Regions from separate parts of the Homo sapiens genome. Here region 1 is linked to region 2. Evidence: promoter capture Hi-C in human tissues and cell types (Jung and others, 2019). All regions are on one chromosome and are shown on one strand. Each heading gives the region's core, a stretch centred on a gene start or on the middle of the fragment in contact. The rest is flanking DNA. Distances are from core to core; before and after follow the strand shown.

Region 1 (7,041 bases), core at 4,173-6,672, 380 kb before region 2:
CTTCTACAATGGATGTGGCCGTATTCCAGTAAAATTTTATTTGCCAAAACCGGTGCCTGCTAACTATAGTTTGTTTATCTCTGTATCTCTGCTCTGGTGGAACAATAACATTCATGAACTCTGGTTCTCTGGATGCCCTGGAAAGAGAACTGCCCTACATTCCAGATCACCTACTAACTCAGATGTCTATGTGAAGGAAAAATAAGGCGTTTTGTTTTTGTTTTTTTTTGTTTGTTTTGTTTTTTGTTTTTGACAGGATCTCACACTGTTGTCCAGGCTGGAGTGCAGTGGCAGGATCATAGCCCACCGTAGCCTCAACCTCCCTTGGCTCAGGTGATCCTCCCACCTCAGCTTCCCAAGTAGGTGGGACTACAGGCATATGCCACCATGCCTGGCTGATTTTTTATTTTAAAAATTTTTTGTAGAGACAGTGTATCACCATGTTGCCCAGGCTGGTCTTGAACTCCTGGGCTCAAGCAGTCTTCCTTTCTCAGCCTCCTCAAGTGCTGGGATTACAGGCATGAGCCACTGTGCCCAGCCTGAGAAATAAGTTTTTAACTCTTATGTAAGTCACTGTTATTTTGGATTCTGTTAAGGTGTTCAAACCAATATCGTAATGCAACTGTATCTTCTGGTGAGAAGTATCTAAATATGGATGATCACAGTTCCCTGGGAGTGTTATTACTTTATTTTAGTCACTAATCTAGTTCTAGAAAAAAGAGTGATGATTGGGAAACTCATCTTTTCAAAATCCTGTAGCAAGTCTGACATGGTACTGATGTGGCACTATATCCCTTGATTCTGAAGATGCCAGTTGGAAGCAGCAACCAAAGATAACGTTTCTTTGCTTTTGTTGTTAACCTGAAGTCATTGTAAAGAAGTTGAATGACCTCTTGACATTTAGGAGATGTTAAATGACCTCAGAGCCAGTTTTTCACTAGTAAGGATATAATAAATAACTTGAATTTCACTAAATGCAAGTTAGTTGCAGGTTCCAACCTGCAATTCTGGTTAAACATAAATATCCTAAAGGCAGTATACTTGTAAAGAAAATTTCCATATATTGCATAACGTATTCACACTTTGCCCATCATTCAAGGCATTGCATGTGCTATTGTCAACTTCCCTAACCACCTTTTAAATTTATCATCAACATAAAATTAAGAAGAATAGTGAAATTCTTTTCATATTGATGACAGTCCACTATTTTCTACAGAGCAAGATAATCAAAACAAAATAATTGGTCATTTTGAAGAAGAAATTTACTGAATGAAGCAGTTGGAAAGAATGGATTACAGTTGTTTTTGAGAAAGTTTACATTAATTGTTCACATTAAAAATATATCTTCCAAGTATCTTCTCTGCTTTCCTTAGTCGTTTTAGCAAAGGCATCTGTGTTTATTTATTTACCTAATAAGTAGTTATTCTCTAAATTCTTACCTCTAAGTTCTCTAACTTATTCTTTAAGTTCTTGTCTCTAAGAACATTTATTTACCTAATTATTTATTCATTTACCTAATGTCATCTTTTGGTCCCATAATTTTAAATAAGTGCAAAGTGATGTTTATACTGCCAGTTTGGAGTTTTGCAGTAGCAGGTGTGATTGTCTTATAAAACTCTTTTGATATAGCCAATGTCATGTTCCTTATTCGTGTGTTATTTTCGAAATGTATTCAAGGCAGCACCCCCGAGACAGCTGTGACAATAATGCCCCCCCCCCCATGACAACAGAGGAACTGTGCCAAAGCTCAGCAAAACAAAATTTACTTGGCAGGGGAGAGAGTTTAGAGGCTTTTCACAGCTCTTTGGAAATGCTAATAAGGTCTCAACCTTGAACCATGTTTGCTTTTTATCTGGGAAACCCTTTCCAGTTACAATAGCATTGATATACTAAGAGATTCCAAGTTAGGAGTTTATACAGTAGGTTTATGAGACAGGTAATCCAAAAGTCAGGTGCTCCCTCTTCGCTTGGAAGAACAGTGCATTTTGGGACATTTTAAAGCACATTGTCAACTTCTTTGGCCTTTTTTTTTTTTTTTTTTTTTTTTTTTTGAGTTGGAGTCTTTACTCTGTCGCCCAGGCTGGAGCGCAATGGCGCGATCTCGGCTCACTACTACAACCTCTGCTTCCTGGATTCAAGTGATTCTCCTGCCTCAACTTCCTGAGTAGCTGGGATTACAGGTGCGTGCCACCATGCCCAGCTAATTTTTATATTTTTAGTAGAGATGGGGTTCTACCGTGTTGGTCAGGCTGGCCTCGAACTCCTGACCTCGTGATCCACCCACCTCGGCCTCTCAAAGTGCTGGGATTACAAACGTGAGCCACCGCATCTGGCCGGCTCCTTTAACCACTACTTATAACAGGCTCACAGCCTCAAGGTTGGCAGGCTTTACCGCCAGGCGTAATGTTGTGTTAATGTGGGTGAAGTACATTTGCAATGTGCAAATAGTTGACTCACAGCTCTAATTTTGTTCTTCTGAGTAGCTCTTTTAAGCTTCCCTGCCCTTTTTGTCTTATGTTGCTTAGATGACTGGAGAAAAATATTATTATCTGATGGCTCAATTTAAAGACCCACGATTAAACCAACTGAGCTCAGCCTTCACACTCACACCTACCTTTCAATATCTGGCACTAATCTTTTAAATACCTTGTCAGAGGAATACTGTTTCCTGGGTGTGTTCAAACTAGTCATGTTGTTATGTCCCAAAAACAGTGGGATCCTTTTCAGACGAAAAACACATGAAGGCTCAAAGCCAAGCTGCTGCGTAAAAGCTTTCCCTTTCCTTCCTCTGACCCATCCTCTTTGGAATAATTAGATGAATGGTGCTTTTTTCTGTGATTTATCTGTGTTTTTAAAGGCAAAACTCCCATGAAGAGATGGGCTATTAAGAATTCTCACAGTTGGCTGGGCATAGTGGCTCACGCCTGTAATCCCAGCTCTTCTGGAGGCTGAGGAGGGTGGATTGCTTGAGATCAGGAGTTCAAGACCAGCCTGGCCAACATGGTGAAACTCCCGTCTCTACTAAAAATCCAAAATAGCCAGGCTTGGTGGCAGGCGTCTGTAATCCCAGCTACTCAGGAGGCTGAGGCAGGAGGATGGCTTGAACCTGGGAGGTGGAGGTTGCAGTGAGCCAAGATTTTGCCGCTGCACTCCAGCCTGGGCAATGGAGCAAGACTGTCTCAAACGGACAAACCAAAAAAGGATTCCCACAGTGAACACTTTCAACTATTTGTTTGAAAATTTTTATTCCTCTTTTGCTGTGTCTAAAAGACTAAGAATCTTGAGGAGTTATGTATAAAAAGCTCTAACTCTCCTTTTGATAATTTTTAGAGTTAGTAATTTATAGCCTAAAGAATTATATAAGGCTGGGCACAGTGGCTCACACCTGTAATCCCAGCACTTTGGGAGGCTGAGGTGGGCCGATCACTTGAGGTCAGCAGTTTGAGAACAGCCTGACCAACATGGTGAAACCCCATTTCTACAAAAAACAAAACAAAAACAAAAACAAAATTAGCCGGATATGGTGGCACATGCCTGTAATTCCAGCTACTTGGTAGGCTGAGACAGGAGGGAGGCAGAGGTTGCAGTGAGCAAAGATCGCACTACTGCACTCCAGTTTGGGCAACAAGAGTGAAACTTTGTCTCAAAAAAAAGAATATATAAGGTGACATCATTTAGTATAAACACAGATAATATAGGATCTTGGAAAATATGAGTCGTATCAGTACTTAGCAGCAATCAGGTCATTTACTAGTTATGAGTAATTGACTCAAAATGTATCTTTTTCTACAAAAGAAACATTATTATTATGAGTAGGCTGCTTAGCATGCATATTATCATTTATTTAGTACTGAATGTCATAGTGTCTTTCTTTTTATTATTCTCATGTTTCTAAAGCAATAAGAAAAACAGATGGGATAGGCCGGGCGCAGTGGCTCACGCCTGTAATCCCAGCACTTTGGGAGGCCGAGGCGGGCGGATCACGAGGTCAGGAAATTGAGACCATCCTGGCTAACACGGTGAAACCCCGTCTCTACTAAAAATACAAAAAAAATTAGCCGGGCGTGGTGTCAGGCGCCTGTAGTCCCAGCTACTTGGGAGGCTGAGGCAGGAGAATGGCGTGAACCCGGGAGGCGGAGCTTGCAGTGAGCCGAGATCGCGCCACTGCACTCATGACTGGGCAACAGAGCGAGACTCTGTCTCAAAAAAAAAAAAAAAAAAGCAGATGGGATAAAAACAACAGAAGAATATTATCCATGTGTTTATGCAAATAACATGGCTTAAACATTTTGTGATAGCTAAGTTAGTGCTCTGAATAATAATTTGTATGCACTGAGTAGTCAAAATTTAAAAATGTGGAAACTTACATTTACACTGATTTCAAATTAAATTGATTTAGGAACCAAAGTATACTTTCATGATGAAATTATTTTTTAGTGTTTCAACAACTATACCTACCGTTTTTTTCACCCTTTTCTTTTAAAATAAAAATATATGTGTGCATATGTATTTAAATAAAATAATGCTTATTATAGAAAATTTGGAAAAAAAAAAACCCTGAAATTGCATCAGATAATTACTTCTGATAATTAGAACATTTTGACATCAAAATCAGCATAAACTCACGTTTTACTATCTGCTCTTCCTCCCACCATATGTTGATATTTTATACATTTTATTATTTCTTTAAATATTATTTGCTTACATGATTTTGAAGCTTAATCAAATGAACATACCACAATTTATTAAACAAAATTTCTATTGTTGGACATTCAGATTGGGTTCAACTTTTTCTTTTTATAGTAACATTCAGCAGAACACCATTGAACATAAATCTTTGAATGCATGTTGATTATTTCCTTAGGATAAACCCCTAAATCTAAGATTACGGCGACCAGAGTTACTTCAATTTTAACTGGTGAAATAATTTAAAAATTGTTATTTTCTTCTTCTTCTTTCTTCTTTCCTTTTTTTTTTTTTTCTTTTTTGAGATGGGATTTTGCCCAGGTGCTATCTTCGCTCACTGCAACCTCTGCCTCCTGGGCTCAAGGGATTCTCTCGCTTCAGTCCCTCAAGTAGCTGGGACTGCAGGCATGTGCCACCATGCCCCAGCTAATTTTTGCATTTTATGTAGAGACGGGGTTTCACTATATTGGTCAGGCTGGTCTCCAACTCCTGAGCTCAAGTGATCTGCCCATCTTGGCCTCCCAAAGTGCTGGGATTATAGGCATGAACCACCATGCCTGGCCCCCAAAATTGTTATTTTCAAGTCTAAAATTTCTTTCAGCTTCTACATGACAGATAATTCTCCTGACAAAATAGTCTTCCTTTTTAAAAAATGTGAAAGATAGTTTTGACTTGTCCAATAAATGAAGCTTTATCAGTGGTTGTGTGTATGTGATTTTGTGAATTTTTTTTGTTTTTTTGAGACAGAGTTTCACTCTTGTTGGCCAGGCTGGAGTGCAATGGTTCACTGCAACCTCTGCCTCCCAGGTTCAAGCGATTCTCCTGCCTCAGCCTCCGAGTAGCTGGGATTACAGGCATGCACCAGCATGCCCAGCTAATTTTGTGTTTTTAGTAGAGACGGGGTTTCACCATGTTGGTCAGGCTGGTGTCGAACTCCTGACCTCAAGTGATACACCTGCCTCAGCCTCCTAAAGTGCTGGGATTACAGGTGTGAGCCACTGCACCAAGCTGATTTTGTGAATATTGCAAATGTATTTGTGGAACAAAATGGCTTGGAGTCCCTCTTAAATGAATGCCCTGTTGTTCTCATCATAGCAATCCACCTACTGCTGTAGGCTTGATGTTATCACTCCTGCCATTCGGGCAGGTGTCTGGAGGGTGGAAGTAGGGACAAAGACCTTAGAAAAGTGGTAGGGTGATGAGAGATAGATTGGGAATTAATAGCAAATCAGGAAAGAAGCAATTAAGTAAATGACGAGAATTGAGGCTGGTTAGAGTAGGTCTGAGAAGCAGAGTAGATACTTTTCTCATTTTAATGAATGCTAATCAGCTGGCCTAGTGAAAACCTCCTCCTGATATGCCAAACACAATGGCTTATGCAAACATTTGATAAAGCATTCTCAGGTGTGTTAGTCATTAAGCCATGACCTTGGGAACAGATTGCATGGCTATATTCCTCAGTCATTTACAGTACACACACAGGTCCATAAATGCAGCTGTGTGAATATAATTAATTACTAACAATTCTTATTTTAGAAGTGGTAGTATCTTGAGAGTAATCCATAGGTAGTGGACAAGAAATAATTAAAAGCTGTTCTGCATTGAGCCTAGCCAGAAGCTCTAAAAGCTATTGTGCTATACTGTCGGAAAAAGGGGAGTTTAATTAATTAATTAATTCATTTATTTATCTTTCTTTTTTTTGAGATGGAGTTTTGCTCTTGTTGCCCAGGCTGGAGTGCAACGGTGTGATCTTGGCTCACCGCAACCTCAGCCTCCTGGGTTCAAGTGATTCTCCTGCCTCAGCCTCCCGAGTAGCTGGGATTACAGGCATGCACCACCACACCCAGCTAATTTTGTATTTTGAGTAGAGGTGGGGTTTCTCCATGTTGGTCAGGCTGGTCTTGAACTCCTGACCTCAGGTGATCCGCCCGCCTCAGCCTCCCAAAGTGCTGGGATTGGGAGTTTTCTTTAAAAGCGATAAAGGACAAGCCCACTGAGAAAGTTATCTGTTGTTACCTAGGATAGTCTTCCTGGTGGTAAAAATCCTTTGGAAACTTTTTTTTTTCTTTTTCTTTTTTGAGACGGAGTTTCGCTCTTGTTGCCCAGGCTGGAGTGTAATGGCTCAATCTTGGCTCACCACAACCTCCGCCTCCCGGGTTCAAGTGATTCTCCTGCCTCAGCCTCCCGAGTAGCTGGGATTACAGGCGCCCACCACCACACTCGGCTAATTTTTGTATTTTTAGTAGAGACAGGGTTTTACCATGTTGGCCAGGCTGGTCTCAAATACCTGACCTTAGGTGATCCACCCGCCTCGGCCTCCCAAAGTGCTAGGATTACAGGTGTGAGCCACCGTGC
Region 2 (6,856 bases), core at 51-2,550:
TCCCCCTGTTAAACCAAGGAACGGCCCATCATTGGCCCATGAATTCTATAGAAATGGCTGCTTTAAAACTGCTTCAGATGGTTTCATGTGGTCTTAGCATCTTTATGTAGGAGGAGAGCAAAAAGCAGAAAGGTAGGTGTCAGGGCAGAGACCAGGGGTTTAGATGAAAGTTCAAGACAGAATTCCACTTCCATCCCCATTCCCAGCTTTATTTTCTTCAAAATCTGAACTGATGCTATGCTGCCGGCCTCCAGTCTGGGGGTGGGGGTGGATTCTTTCGAAAGGCAAAATAACCTCAAAATGATTCAGTCACTGCAAAGGGATTCAGACCTGCAGCCTTGAGTACCAGTCTAGTCTTTGTTACTTACTAGCTGCTGGAGTCTGGGTAAGTTACCTCCTCTCTGATTTCTCCTCCATCAGAGGTGGAGGAGAATCCTACCCATCTCACAGGGTTGTGTGAGGACTTAAGATCCCCAGAGGCGTGGCATGTGCCTGCACAGGGCCAGCCTCGGCAAGCCTGACCTCTGCTCATCATTTTCCCTGAGGTGGGGGTTCAATGCTGCAAAGACTAAGCCAGGCCAAACCGCACCCGTTCGCGGCCCTCTCCTGCAGCCACTCACCCACTTCCACGAACTCGTTGTTCTCTAGGGCCACCTCGAGCCGGTCCTCGTTGTCCAGCAGGCCCAGGCCCTTGCACCGGCGCACAAGGAAGTGCGCGTCATCCACGGAGGTGAAGCCACCATTGTCGGGCTTATTCTTGATATAGCGCCTCACGGCCTCCCGGCCCAGCCAGCCCACAGTGAGCTGCGCGTCCTGGCAGGGCACTGCCAGCCATTCCCCACGTACGTGCACCGTGTATCTGGGCATGGCTCCGCTGCAGCCTGAGGTCCTCAGCTGGTCACAGGAGGGGAGAGCTTTATGCAGGAGTGGCTACCGGGGTGTGGTCAGCTGGAAGGATGAGAATAGACTTTCAAACCACTCCCCCTCCTTCACCTTTACTCATTCATGCATTGGACAAATATTTATTGAGGTACCTGCTGTCCCTTTGGTTTTTGTAGCCGAGCAGGGGCAGGAGCAGGGGATGCAGACGGGTGAGCCTCCTGTCCACTTTCCATCCAGACCTGCTGCCAGAAAGGCCTGGGGTCTCCCACCCTGGGAGGTGCTGTTCTTGTCCCTGATGGCACCTACCTGCTGCTGGCCCCCTTTCTTCAGGGTCCCCAATTTCTCTCTCTTCCCTCGTTTCTGTCTGTGTTCTCTGCCATTAAGGGCAGCTTATAAACACCATGTTCCTGTCTTTATCTGAGATTACTCAACTGTAAAACGTGTTCTGTGGGCCAACTGTGACACTGGGAGTGTGGCAATCGTCACTCATTTGTTTATTCCACAAACATGTATTGAGCAACTACTTCCTGTCACCAGTAAGGTTTTCTGAAGCTTTCTTTCCACCAGGGAAGACTGCAAAGGCCAGAGATCATTTTCACAACTAAAGGTCGTCATCTGGGCAAATGAACCACTCTGACTTGGAGATTAGGGGCTCAGACAGCCGTGGATGAGAGTCCAGCTCTACTACTTATTAGCCTTGATTAGGTGAGTATTACCCTGTATTTCCTTATCAGAAGGCCTAGGGGCTAACTGCCTCCTTCCAGTATGTGCAGGATTTACCTGTGATCAAATCCTGGCTCTGCCATTTGCTAAGTGTATGACTTGTGGGCAAGTGATTTGACTTCTCTGGGCCTCAGTTGCCTCATCTGTAAAATGAAGATAATGGTAATGATGATAGTATATATGTCAAAGGGCTATTGGGAGGATGAAGTCAGTTCATATATGTAAAGCCCTCAACACAACACCTGGCATAGTGGAAATATTATAGAAGTGTCTGTGATTACTAGTATCTGGACACCAATACTCCATGTAACTATAATGCTTTATAAATGTTCTGTATGAATCATAAAGCTATAAAGTTCCATAAATGCTCTTTCATCTTGGCACATGGATATCCCTCACCCAATTAAGCTTCTTCACCACAGATAACTGCTCCCTGCACCCGCCTTATTACCATTGGTATTAAGGAACTCTGGATAGCATGATTACGGCATCAAAGATATGCAGATGCTATTTTGACTAAGCAGCACTTTCATCGTAAGCCAATTTTTAGAGATTTGATTATTGCACTAGAAAAATCCTGAAAAGTCTGTTTCCACTAAATCAGACTTCTGTTGGGAAGAGAGACATGGTTGCTCAAGAAAAACACCTATACTCATACCCAGAGTCCCTCTCATCTGCTGACAGCTTCCCAGGAAGCGTACAAATAGCTACCCTTCCTTGAGCCTTATTGAAACTTGCTCTTCAGATACCCACACCATGACTGCACCCTGGAATTTGTCATGACCTGAATTTGACACACTTAAGAAATCACCCTGGAATCTGTCACGACCTGAATTTGACACACTTAAGAAATCTGAAATTCCAATATTCCACCTTCTGACCACAACCTTCCAGCTGCCCTTTTACTCTAGTCACTGCCAGCCTTGGACCTGACCTCCAGTCAGTCTCTTCATCCCTCCACTTCCCACCAGCATCCTCACTTACTATCCTAGGAAGCTGGTCCCTAGTCGCTCACTGGACCACTCTTTCTTAAGCACTCTGAGATTCCTTTGCATCCCTAAACTTATGTCTACACTTGGAATAACACCCATCCCCTTAGTCATCACAAAAAACAGCCATCTCTTGGAAGGATTGCTTAAGCCTAGGCAGTCAATGCTGCAATGAGTTATGATTATACCACTGTACTCCAGCCTGGGTGAGAGCAAGACCCTGTTTAAAATTAAAAGAAACTGTCATATCTGTTCACCCAGGCAGAAGACACTGATAGAGAAAGTCCTGTGATCACATAGTTTGATGGTATTGCCCTTTTATTCCATCCAGCCCACAGTGACTTTCCAAAACTTTGACCCCTCTGCCAGGACCTTCTCGACATCCACCTCTAATTCTCAGAAGGAGACCTTACTTCCTACATCTGTGAGAAAACTGAGGACTGCACATGTGAACCACCTTAACCTTCTGCCCCACCCCCCCCCATTCATTCCTTGACTCATTTAACAAATATTTTTTCAACACCTGTTATGTAACAAGCTCTATGCGAGGTGCTGGGGATGAAATAAATAACAAACACGCTCTACATTCATGAGGCTTACTGTCTGGTGATGGATAAAGCTGTATAAAGATGACTAATAAGAGGTCTAACTATCTTCATGCTGCAAAACAACCCAAACTACTGCATGCTCCAGTTGACTGTCACTGCCGAGACCAGCTTCTGAGTAATTTCAGCCCAGGCATCAGACTAGTGAGGGAAGGAGCTTCCAGGTGATACCACCTCCCAGCCATGTAAGTCACCCCCAGCAGTTTGAGGATTCTAAACTCAGGCCCTACGCATTGTGGAGCAGAGTCTTCCTTGTTATTCTTTCTCCAGAAACGCACTTTCCAACTTCCTTTGCCTGTCTAGATCTTTCTTACTCCTTAAGCCTGTTTAGGCCTTTTCTTCTCCAGGAAGCATTCCCTAAATTCTTCAGTTGGGTTAAGTGGCCCTTCTCTGGGATGCCTTAGCATAGCTCTTCTTTAGTATTATCTAGGAAATTACTTGTCTGTGTTCATCCATAATTATGTATATATCCGATCTGGCACAAAGACATTTAGCATATGCTTACTAGCTGAACTGAAGAAATGTGAACTGCACCGAGCTGGCCCCTAGGTAAACCAGCAAGCAGGATTAAGTTTGTCTTTAGCGCCCTCTACCTTCTTCACAGCACCCTTCCATGCCACCCTTCAAGCATCCCTTGTCACAATTCACTTTCAGTATCACTAAGTGATAACTAAAAACGACATTAACTTACAGCTTGTCTTGTAAGCTCATAGGGCAGAAGCCTTAAAGAGCAGTATTTGGGTAAATGGATTTGCTAAAGTCTAATCTTAGAACATGATCTTATGCCAGTGATTTGAGCTGAACTCCCTTCTCTGTATTCTTGGCAAGGAAGGCAAGGGAGAGCAGAGCCTGGAGAAAGAATCACACTGCAGCATAGATAAGTGACCAAGAGGACAGAACGAGGCGGGTGGATTGCTTGAGCCCAGGAGTTCGAGACCAGCCTGGGCAACATGGCCAAACTCTTTCTCTACAAAACAAAAATTAGCCAGACATGGTGGTGCATGCCTGTAGTCTCAGCTACTCCAGAGGCTGAGGTGGGAGGATGGCTTGAACCCAGAGGCTGATGCTGCAGTGAGCTATGGTCATGCCACTGCACTCCAGCCTGGGCGACAGAGTGAGACCCTGTCTCAAAACAAAACAAAACAAAAACTGCTAGGGAGAGTGAGAGCCAGGGAAAAGTCAGGATTCCGGGAATAGGCAGGAATATGTCTCTTCCATACCTGTCCCACCTTGGGTGTTCACTCCTATTGTAACTTTAGTCACTGCATTAGCACTTTGAGGGGTTATTTGGTCAGGACACCGCTCCCCACCCCCACCCCATGCCAACAATTATACTCTAAGACACCATTCCTCTTACACAATTTATTTGACCAGAGGTGGACCCAACCTGGGTTAGAGTCTCACCTCTGGGAATTTGGAATTGTGATAGCCTCCCCATGTGGTCAGAGCTATTTGTAACAGTAAAGCTGGAGAGTGGCCGGCCTGTACAACGTGGACTAGAGAGGCAGAGGTGAGGGACAGGAGCACTGACGGTGCTGCAGTCCTGGGCATCAGACCCCTTCTGTCCGTCCCAGGTTCTGATAATCTCCCCATACCTAGCATCCTTAAAATAATCTTCCTTTTCCCTTTTTGACTTCTGGTCACTTGGATTGCTGTTACTTGCAATCAAAGAATTCTAACACAGCTATGGTTCTAATTAATTCTAACTAATAGAGCTAATACACTAATAATTCTACCTAGTACAGCTATGTGTGCTGAGATGCCCTGGGGCACTACGTTGCATTGGCAGGGGTGCTTTGTTATGTTTGTCTTTTATTTGGTTCAAGTTATTTTGTTGTCTTTGAACAGACTGTGAGAGGGATGGGAAAGACTGGTGCTTGGGGTGGCCATCTGACCCCTGATGGACAGGAGACCAGGACAAGCCCACTGGATGAGCCGGAGGGGTCCAGGAGGAGGGAGTTGAGAGCTCCTGCTAGGGTTGACACATTCTGGTAAGGAGTTCATCTGCTGTCCACCAGGTAGGTGGTGTGCAAATACAACTAAGCATTCATGTTTAAGGTTTTTTTTTAATTTTTTATTTTTCGAGGCAGAGTCTCCATTGCCCAGGCTGGAGTGCAATGGCGCCATCTCGGCTCACTACAACCCCTGCCTCCCAGATTAAAGTGCTTATCCTCCCTCAGCCTCCTGAGTAGCTGGAATTACAGTCGTGCCTCCACGCCCAGCTAATTTTTGTATTTTTAGTAGAGACGGGGTTTCACCATGTTGGCCAGGCTGGTCTCAAACTCCTGACCTCAGGTGATTCACCCGCCTTGGCCTCCCAAAGTGCTGGGATTACAGGCATGAACCACTGCGCCCGGACTTATGTTTAAGGTTATTTAAAAAGCAAAGCAAAATCCTAACCATGTTGAATTTTTGAATCTGCAGCAGATTCAAATTAATGAATTTAAATCATATATCAGGTAAAATACTACCTTGACATATTTTGTGATCATACTGAGAGAAAATTAATATAAAGCTAATTCAAAATTTTTTAATTTGTAAATCAAAAGATTAAACCTTGTTAAAATTTACAAAGAATATGCCACTATAAGAAGAAGTAGCTCAACTTTATTTCAGTAAAATCACCAACAAAACAATAAAAAGCCAAAACTAAAAAGACAGTTTTAATTGTGAGCTGAAGTTTTATATTTCTTTACGAATTCCATTTAAAAAAGAGAAATCTCTAAAATCATCAATACGCAGGTCTTTAATCCACTTTTAAGTCTTTCCCCACCAGCATTGCAGTCACGGGATGCATGCTTGCTTTGTGCTCTTGGTAGGTTCGGACAGCTTGATCATGGGATTTGTCAAAGGCAGCAAGATCCCTGCCAAAAAAGAAAAAATTGAAAAGAAAGAAAGGCGAGAAGGAGACAGAGGAGGAGAAAGGGAGGGAGAGAAGAAAGAAAGGAGGGAAGGGGTTCAGAGGAAAGGAAAAAGGAAGGAGAAAGAGAATAAGAACACAAGTCAATACCCAAGATTAAATTAAAGGATGTCAGCAGGGGTGACAGCCAGCATCACCCAAATAAGGCACCAGTCCCAGCCAATCAGATGGGTATGGTCCTGCCACAGGGTCCCAGAGACCTCCTTCTGTACCAGAGACTGGCCTTTATACTGGCAGATCAGACATTTTGCAGCAAGTTACAGGGAAGGGCTAGAGTGGCTGGGACCCGTGGCTATTTACCAAGCAGCATGGAAGGATTTTATTATTTGAACAGAGTCCTCTCATCTCCTGGCTAAATATCAGCCCTGTATGTGAGAGTGAGCCTCAAAGCCTTTCTTTTTAAAAACTGCTTTTAAAAAAAATTTTTTAATCAAGATTTTAAGAGTATGAAAACACTAAAATTTATATAGAATTTCTGAAAACTTCAAATAATTGAGAATAAAAGTCCTGACCACAGTGAAATAATAAATACATAATAAATAATACACGAAATAAATAATAAATACACTAAATAAAAAGGACCTACCATACAAAAGGTAGGATTAGTCATTTTTAATGTAACTACTATAAACATCATAAAACAGAAATACTTATTTTTCCCACAAAAGGTATACTCTTATTTATTTTATTCATTTTTTTTTTTTGAGACAGAGTCTCGCACTGTCACCCGGGCTGGA

What was found. Contacts are between HindIII fragments. The study calls those that stand out against the background at their distance.
Region 1: a fragment that was not itself captured here is called in contact with the fragment with the promoter of HAL in region 2 in 2 of the 25 tissues and cell types used here (aorta and hippocampus).

Annotation. Positions count from the first base shown.
Region 1 is chr12:95,606,059-95,613,099 of GRCh38, forward strand. No RefSeq gene overlaps it. Among named protein-coding and RNA genes, the nearest start is that of USP44, 58 kb to the left of the region's middle. RefSeq lists enhancers at 5,106-5,674, 5,675-6,243. The HindIII fragment of the contact is 5,580 bases long and covers 2,633-7,041 here.
Region 2 is chr12:95,995,044-96,001,899 of GRCh38, forward strand. It overlaps HAL (histidine ammonia-lyase), which reads right to left and starts at 1,301. Exons shown (of 21, transcript NM_002108.4): 1 at 1,035-1,301; 2 at 621-948. The coding sequence starts at 867. LOC102723340 (a long non-coding RNA gene) reads left to right here and starts at 1,439. Exons shown (of 4, transcript XR_945237.4): 1 at 1,439-1,587; 2 at 3,288-3,384; 3 at 5,048-5,217. LTA4H (leukotriene A4 hydrolase) reads right to left here. Exons shown (of 19, transcript NM_000895.3): 19 at 5,710-6,063. The coding sequence ends at 5,946. RefSeq lists enhancers at 1,514-1,683, 2,908-3,202, 3,649-3,708. The HindIII fragment of the contact is 2,850 bases long and covers 1-1,723 here.